3 separate regions of the Homo sapiens genome follow, and regions 1 and 2 are each linked to region 3. The links are contacts of gene promoters, found by promoter capture Hi-C in blood cells and fetal thymus (Javierre and others, 2016). All regions are on one chromosome and are shown on one strand. Each heading gives the region's core, a stretch centred on a gene start or on the middle of the fragment in contact. The rest is flanking DNA. Distances are from core to core; before and after follow the strand shown.

Evidence for each region. The method cuts DNA at HindIII sites, captures the fragments that hold promoters and counts their contacts. A CHiCAGO score of 5 or more calls a contact.
Region 1: a contact is called between a fragment that was not itself captured here and the fragment with the promoter of DLD in region 3, in 2 of 17 cell types (non-activated CD4 T cells and naive CD8 T cells). The highest score is 5.3, in non-activated CD4 T cells.
Region 2: a fragment that was not itself captured here is called in contact with the fragment with the promoter of DLD in region 3 in 1 of 17 cell types (M2 macrophages); the score reaches 6.2 in M2 macrophages.

Annotation. Positions count from the first base shown.
Region 1 is chr7:107,727,407-107,730,106 of GRCh38, forward strand. No RefSeq gene overlaps it. Among named protein-coding and RNA genes, the nearest start is that of CBLL1, 15 kb to the right of the region's middle. The HindIII fragment of the contact is 1,632 bases long and covers 510-2,141 here.
Region 2 is chr7:108,093,135-108,095,973 of GRCh38, forward strand. It overlaps LAMB4 (laminin subunit beta 4), which reads right to left. Exons shown (of 34, transcript NM_007356.3): 12 at 2,094-2,203. Among named protein-coding and RNA genes, the nearest start is that of LAMB4, 36 kb to the right of the region's middle. The HindIII fragment of the contact is 581 bases long and covers 1,085-1,665 here.
Region 3 is chr7:107,889,815-107,892,514 of GRCh38, forward strand. DLD (dihydrolipoamide dehydrogenase) reads left to right here and starts at 1,369. Exons shown (of 14, transcript NM_000108.5): 1 at 1,369-1,475. The coding sequence starts at 1,437. RefSeq lists enhancers at 1,070-1,149, 1,107-1,789, 1,300-1,539 and a silencer at 1,600-1,709. The HindIII fragment of the contact is 5,175 bases long and covers 1-2,700 here.

The sequences.
Region 1 (2,700 bases), core at 76-2,575, 160 kb before region 3:
TCCAAGAAGTCAGTCATACCTCCCACTGCCTTCCCCTCCCCTCCCCTCCCCTTTCCTTGACAAGATCTGGCTCCGTTGCCCAGGCTGCAGTGAAGTGGCATGATCATGGCTCACTGCAGCCTCAACTTCCTAGGCACAAGCAATCCTCCTGCCTCAGCTCCCCCAAGTAGCTGGGACTACAGGTGCATGCCACCATGCCTGGCAATTTTTTTTTGGTATTTTTTGTAGAGACAGGGTTTCACCATGTTGCCCACACTGGTCTCAAACTCCTGAGCTCAAGTGATCCACCTGCCTCAGCCTCTCAAAGTGCTAGGATACAGGTGTGAGCCACTGCACCGGGCCCTCTCTTTCTTTGTCCCCTTTAGTTCAAACAGATGGTGTCTCTGCTGGTATAATCCCATCTCTATGCCTGCTTTCTGTTGAAATGGCTGATTGTGTTCACGAACTGCACTCATGATCTTTTTATCAAATGGATGTTCATCCACACCCTTAGTATTCTTTTCAGGACAAGCTTTCTCATTTTTTGCAATATGGATAGGCTGATAATTTTCTCAAATCTTCAAGCTCTGGTTCCCTTTTGCTTAATTCCTTCTTCAATTCATCTCTTTCATTTCACATTTTGCTATAAGCACTCAGGAGGAACCAAGCTACTCCTCGGACACTTTGCTTAGTAAAATATCCAATTCAGCCTCACAAGTTCTACCTTCCACAAAATACTAGAACACAGTCCAGCTAAATTCTTTGCTACTTTATATCAAAGATCACCTTTCCTCCAATTAATATATTCTTCCAATGACTTGTTCTTCATTTCTGTCTGAGACCTCCCCAGAATTGCCCTTAATGGTCATATTTCTAGTATGCATCTCAAAGCTCTCCCAGTCTCTCATTATGCAGTTTCAAGCTGCTTCCACATATTTAGGTATTTGTTACACAGCACCCTGTTTCTTGGTACCAAAATCTGTATGAATCAGCTTGGGCTGCCATAACAAAATACCATAGACTGGGTGATGTAAACAAAAGAAACTTACTTTCTCACAGTTCTGAAGGCTGGAAGTCTGAGATGAGGGTGCCAGCATGGCTGGGTTCTGGTGAGACTTCTCTTGCTGGCTTGCAGACAGCTACCTTCTCACTGTGTGTTCACATAGCCTTTCCTAAGCACATGTGTGTGGAGAGAAACAGAGAGAGGAAAGCTCTTCAGTGTCTCTTCTTATAAAGGCACTGAACCCACCATGAAGCCCCACCCTCATGACCATCTAATCCTAATTATCATCCAAAGCTCCATCCCCAAACACCATAAACACTGGGGGTTAGGGCTTTAACAGGTGGAGTTGGGAGGATACAAATATTCAATTTATAGCACCGGATATCCTTTATTTTAATTTGTTTTGTTTCCATTTATTTTTGTTACAAATGAATCTGTCTAGAGTTTTTTTCCCCAACTTTTAATTATACAGTATTTTCAACACCACAGATGTTGAAAGGATACAATACTACACGCCCCCCACCAAGATTCACCAGTTGTTAACATTTTGCCATCCTTGCCTTATGTATATGCCTATCTACCTATATATATTTTGAAAGTAACTTGCACATCATGATATGCTACCTCCTACCGAGTCAGCATTCATCTCCTAACCAAAATACCATTATTATACTCAAGAATAATTATCTTATATCATCTTCTGGCCCATCTATATTAAAATTTCTCCAAATTTTTATAGCTATTTTCCCCTGAATTTGGATCCAATCAATTTCATTGCATTTGAAAAAGTGCTGTCATCTTCTATGATAACAATGCTTTTTTCTGGAATACCTCCTGAAGGACCCGCCTGAGGCTGTCTTACAGTTAATATTTTTAAAAAACAAGTAGTAGTATACTCTAAAATAATGATAACGATTAAATGCCTTTACTTTTATTAATTCAAAAAAGTCCTCCTACCCTTTTCTCCCCTCGTGACCTTGACTTTTTGAAGAGACAAAGGTGTGATAATGGCATTGTCACTATGTTATATTTTAGAGATTCATACTGAAATACTTACCAATGAAATGGGGGGAGAGCTGTTACAAAAATACAATGCATAATTAATTTGCCTCAGATTTAATTTAAACTTCTTACCTAAGTGGAATCAACTTCTTACCTAAGCTTATCAATTGCACAAGTAAACATACAGGATTGACTTACGTGGTGATAATACTGGAAAACACTGTATGTTTATGATTCTAGAATTCTACCTCAGTTTAGCATAGTTTTAAACTTAAGTTCATTAGTGATTTAGCTCATCAAAATATGTGGGTGAAAAATATTAAAACTCCAACTAAAAACCCCTCAAATAAGACTAGAATAAAATTCTAAGAATCACCCTAAATCATTCTACTCAGGAATAACTTTTGCTATGGTCTGAATGCTTTTATCTCCCTAAAATTTATATGTTGAAATCTCACCCCCAATGTGATGGTCTTAGGAGGTGGGACTGTTGAGAGGTGGCTAGGTCATGAGGGCAGCACCCTCATGAATGGGATTAGTGCCCTCAAAAAGAGGCTCCAGCGAGTGCAGTGGCTCATGCCTGTAATCCCAGGACTTTGGGAGGCTGAGTCAGGCAGATCACGAGGTCAGGAGATCGAGACCATCCTGGCTAACACAGTGAAACCATGTCTCTACTAAAAATACAAAAAATTAGCCGGGAGTGTTGGCGGGCGCCT
Region 2 (2,839 bases), core at 125-2,624, 200 kb after region 3:
CGATCTTGGCCAACCTCCGCCTCCCAGGTGGAAGCAATTCTCCTGCCTCAGCCTCCCGAGTAGCTGGGATTACAGGCGCCTGCCACCACGCTCGGCTGATTTTTGTATTTTTAGTAGAGACGGGGTTTTACCGTGTTAGCCAGGCTGGTCTTGAACTCCTGACCTCGTGATCCATCTGCCTCGGCCTCCCAAAGTGCTGGGATTACAGGCATGAGCCACCAGGCTCGGCCGTGTAACTGCTTTTAAAAAAACTGATAGGTTCCCTTACCACAACAACCCCTGGGAATTTTACCCATACAATACTGAAATACTTGGAGGCAGAGAAATCCTTCAAGCTAATTTTGAGATATTACATGAATACCACACTTTAGCATAGGCATTTGTTTATCAATCAGTTGTTTTGGCATAATAACATGAATCCATATGAGAGAGTCAACTCTATTGTTCCAGACTTTTTCCATCATTGCAACATCTTGACCGTTGTTCAAAATAAACAGCTGGTGAGATACAAGTAACTATTTTCTAAGTGTTATAATATTTAGTATAAAATGCTAAAAAAAATTCTCCTCCCACACATCTCAATTGAACATGCTCCGATAAAACTTAAATTTTAGTAGGTATGAAATTCTCTTTGGAAATGGTCTTGTTAAGCATCCATATTTTTTGTATCTTGGTATAATTTTATGCATGATTTTACTCAAAAAGGTGTCTTTTAGATATTAAACATTGATGTCTTTGGACACAATGCGACAAAGGACTTGATGTTTTTCCCCAAACCAAAACTTCAGTTTAAGAAAAAAAAATGATGTGATAGGAACTGCTTCCCACAGGATGTGGTTGTGAAAACTTCCTCTAGGACAGGGAATGCTGCCATGCTGGCCACCTCAGGGCAGATCCAGGGCACCATCAGAGAGATGTGGATGTGGAGAACCTAGTGGGTGCATGGGCTCAGCCACGATGGACAGTTCCCCCATGGGGGGGGTCCCTGTTCAGTTATTTTGCTTGCTTGCCCTGCAAGCAAAAGTGAGTCTGTACTGCACACGTAGCAGTTAACCAGCCAGTGAAAAAAGTCAGCCTGAGCCTAAGCTTTGTCTGGAATTACATGATTTGGTCGATCACATAATTTCAGGATTTGTTGATCCTGTAACCAACTGTGCTCCTTTTTTTGTGTTACACACTTATGGTCATGGAGGTTGGCGTGGCTGACCTTTCTCTTTAAGGTACAATTTTCAGATTTTTTGACTTGTCTTCCAGAATCCCTTCTTCATATTTCCTTCCTTGCTTCTTTCCCCCACCCCCTCTGCCCCATCCTGTTTTCAGTAAAATGACTTAAAATATCAGCACAAAACCATGTCCTCATAGGCATATGTTTCTTATTCATCAGCTACATTTCTTCAGACACATCGAGGTCACTGTTCTTTTATTAGGTTAAGATTTTGTGGGTTTTTTTTTTTTCTCTCTAAAATGTCATGGTGAGCTGCCAAGATTGGAGAACAAAGAAAAGAGTTGGGTTTGAACTCCCCAATTGCATCATGCATTTCTTATGGAGTGAATATGTTTTATTTTACTAATTTTAGATGATACATCTAAAATTGTATGTTTAGTAGAGTCTGTGAAAAATCCAAGAGTTTATTTCCCACAGGAATCTAAAATACATTAAACCTAAGCTTGTTTTTTTATAAGACCTTATCCAAAACATTTTTAGGAAGGGAGTGGTAGGGATGATAAGGGGATTGTGTACAAGGGATAGAAGAAAGTTCTGGTGGCCCAAAACATAGACAGATAAATGTGCTTCTATTCTACTGCTTGGCATTTTCAGGAAAAGAGTGGATAAACCTAATAATATCTGTGCCTGGGTCGGTTTAGTCCAGTCCAGTGGTGAGCTGGTAAATGTTTAACAGGCAGCTCAATGCAGGGGTGAGGGGAGGCTGATAGGTAGTGTTTGCTGATTTCTGTAGTGTAAATACTCATACCACTGGAGTATTAAAACACAATAGGACAAGAAAGAGATTAGCAAAACCAAGTCTTACCTAGGCAATGGCAATAGAAATCTGTATCACTATAGAAAAGGGAAACTATAGGCAAATACATACAGTGCATTCTTCGCAGTGTGCTCCGGTGACATATGACAGGCACAAGCATTGGCCTGTATCCACATCACAGGTCAAGAATGGCAGACTCCCAAGGGGGTTACAGTCGCAGGCTGAAAGCACAGCATACACAATTATTCTCATTCTTAATTCCTCCACTCTTGCAAGTGTACTTAATAGCTCACACAAAGCAAGAAGCATAACCGCAAGAACACAGAGAAGCCTGCCCTGCCAGGTTTATTGTGTGCCTGGCTGCGTGATTATTGTTTTGCATATAACCTCACAGAGGAAATCCTGTGTCAGGCACTTCCAGAGCCTCATGTAGTTTTACTGGATGGCAATTAGGAGGAGGAGACAAGTAGGTGTAGCTAGTTGTACATGCTGCAGTACTGGCACAGTAACCCTAAGTGATGCTGACCAGGCTGGTGACTCAGAGGCAGGAGTTTCTGGGAGTCATGGTTATTACTGATCGCTCCTTCTCTGGCAGATGCATCTGGAATCCCACTCTCTCTTCTCTCCTTTAGTACTTTGTTACTTTTTGTCTTAATTCCCCCCTCCTTCTTCTCCTCTACCCGTAGACATTTCTGAGCCCTGCATATGTTGCAAAGGCTAAAAAGACATGCTACCAGAGCAAGGAATACACTTGCAGCAAATACCAACGTTCATGGAAATAACCCAAATGTCCCATTGACTAATGAATGGATAAATAAAAGTGGCACCTCTGTACAATAGTATGTTATTCAGCAATA
Region 3 (2,700 bases), core at 119-2,618:
CTGGAAAGGATGGAAGTGTTTCATTTTTTAAAAATAAAAATATGATATTGTAATTTTGGACAAAGGAGTAGGGAACAAAGCCCAAGAAAGTTCAGGAAAGAATTGTGAGATTTTGTGCATATGGAGCAGTAACTCCTAGACCAGATGTCAAAGACTGCCATGAAGCTGGAGAGGAGACAATTCTCCCCATCTGTGTGGTGGAGGCTGCTCAATGTCCCCCAATTTCGCTTCATCTCATCTTGCTTATTAATACAATTTCAGTTAGGCACTCAGCTGACAGGACTATGTTTCACAGATCCCCTTGCAGCTAGGTGTGGCTTTGTAATCAGATGGAATGAGGGGATATGATTGTAGAAACTGGAGCAGCCATCTTGAATGAAAGATGCAAGGCAAGCTCTGATGATGGCAGAGTCACGAGATAAAAGGAGCCTGGGACCCTGTCACAGGACAGAGCTGCCAGCAATACCGTCTCTATAACAAACACTAAATTTAATTATTCATATCTAAATCTGAACATAGGCAGTAATTTCTAACCAGTGTTTAGCCCAGCACAAGGCCTGGGTGGTAGACTTCCAATAAATGTAGAATTAAGTTTATTCACACTATATAGACTTATTGCAAGGCAAGAATGAGACCTTAGACTTTCGTGCTCAATCTTGAAGACAATGTTTTTCAACCCTTTTCAACAGATTCTCTCTCAAAACCTAAAATCTCATCCACCATCCCACTCTCTTTTTACCAGGGAGATGTGTTTCTCAACTAAAGAAATAGAAGAAAGTGTGTTCTCTACGTATTGTCAGTTAGCTAATTAGAGCAGAATGCTGGTGATGCCAAAATCTGTAGCCCCATCCCTTATATGGCATTTGAGAGGAGCGAGTATAAAGCAGTAGATAATACCAAAGGTTTTGGCCTCAGGGCCGCAGTTATCTCTCCTTTGTGAGACCTTGGGGGCACTGTTTAACCTCTCTGGGTCTCATCCAAGAAATGGAAATACTAATAATACTCCATATGGTTGTTGCAAGGATGAAATGAGATGTCTGTAGGAAGTGCCGAGGAATGCCTAGCACAACCAAGAGCTTGTTGAACTTGTCACGCTTTACTGTCGATAATGTGCATTAAGCAAACGCTAGTTTTATTTGTTTATTTCATCTTCTAAGTATAAGAATACATTGTAGCTCGACATTTTGGCACCAGCCCCTAAAGCATTCCCACCACCACCCCCGCTGCGACAAAGCCCTGCGCTCCTTACGACAGCGTACGACGCCGAGCCTGACAGGAACGCCTCGTGCGGTAGAACCGCGCGGGCCAATCGCGCTGCTCCCGGGTGATGACGTAGGCTGCGCCTGTGCATGCGCAGGGAGGGGAGACCTTGGCGGAGCGGCGGAGGCGCCCAGCGGAGGTGAAAGTATTGGCGGAAAGGAAAATACAGCGGAAAAATGCAGAGCTGGAGTCGTGTGTACTGCTCCTTGGCCAAGGTGAGGGCCGAGTAGGTGAGGTCGTGTTGAGCCAGAGGCACGGAAGGTCCCGCTCAGTGGGTCCGGTACGCGGCTTAACCGTGTTGGGCTGGCGGAGGCGGGCGCCTGGGCCGCACCACCCCTGGCCCCGCCTCTGCACTGGCTCAGCCCGGCCCTGGGCTCCGAGGTGGCCGCTCATCCTGCAGCAGGCGAGGGACGGGGCTGGGCCCAGGCTGTGGCGAGTCCTTTCGGGTTGTGTGACGGCCGGCGGTCACACATGCCACACCCCCAAGCCTGGGCCGAGGGCCATCCCGGTCACACATAGGCCTCTACCTTGGAGGAAGTGTAAGCCACCCATGTCCCGTATAGTCTGGCTTTTTATACCATTTGCCTTTTTCTCATCCTAATTCTGATCCCTGAGTGGCCTAAGTTTATGCAGTGGGCAGGTAACCCTGGGGTCACTTCTTGAATGGTTTAGATCCAGTCAGCTCCAACAGATAGCCCTCGGAATTCCCCTAAGGTCTTGTCAGTGTTGGCAGCTTTCAACTGGTGTTCATTGCCATCTCTCACGACTTCCTGGAGGCTTAAATCTTTAATTGCAGCAGGTTATCAGAACAACTCTCCTTTTTAATCTGCTTACCAGATACAGCCAAATTGTGTGTATGTGGCACCGTGGCTGGGTACTATGTTAGTGGAGACCTTAAAAATAATATAGCGATCAAACCCTTTTGTTTCAGAGATGAGGAACCTGAGTTCTCAAAAGTTAATGTAACATTCTGCAAGTCATGCTTTTAGGGAGCGGCGGAGGTGGGACTGAAACTCAGGATTGTCAATCTGCTGCTTTTTGGGTTTGCTGTCCTGACCTCAAATGTTAAGAGTTGCCTTGGAATAGGAAACATCAGTGTAGGTTTTGTCACTGCCGCCCATTTTCCTGCTGTGAGCAGGGGTTATTTGCTTGCTTGCTTTCTGCCTCATTGCCCTTAGGAAATGGTAGCCGTCCACATATAGAGATTAGGGAGATTATGATGCAATTTGTCAAACTGTAGTAGCACCAGAACGTAAGTACATTACTTGGTGCATTTTCCTAAGTTACCTTGTCTAATTTGCTATTCCTAGTTGATGTCTCAGGAACATCTTCATAGATTGTTCTAAGTAAATACGGACTGTATATACACGCTAGCTTAGAGTTAGGAAACAAAAATTACAGGTAAAAAGATTATCATGTATAGATTATTCAAGTATTTAA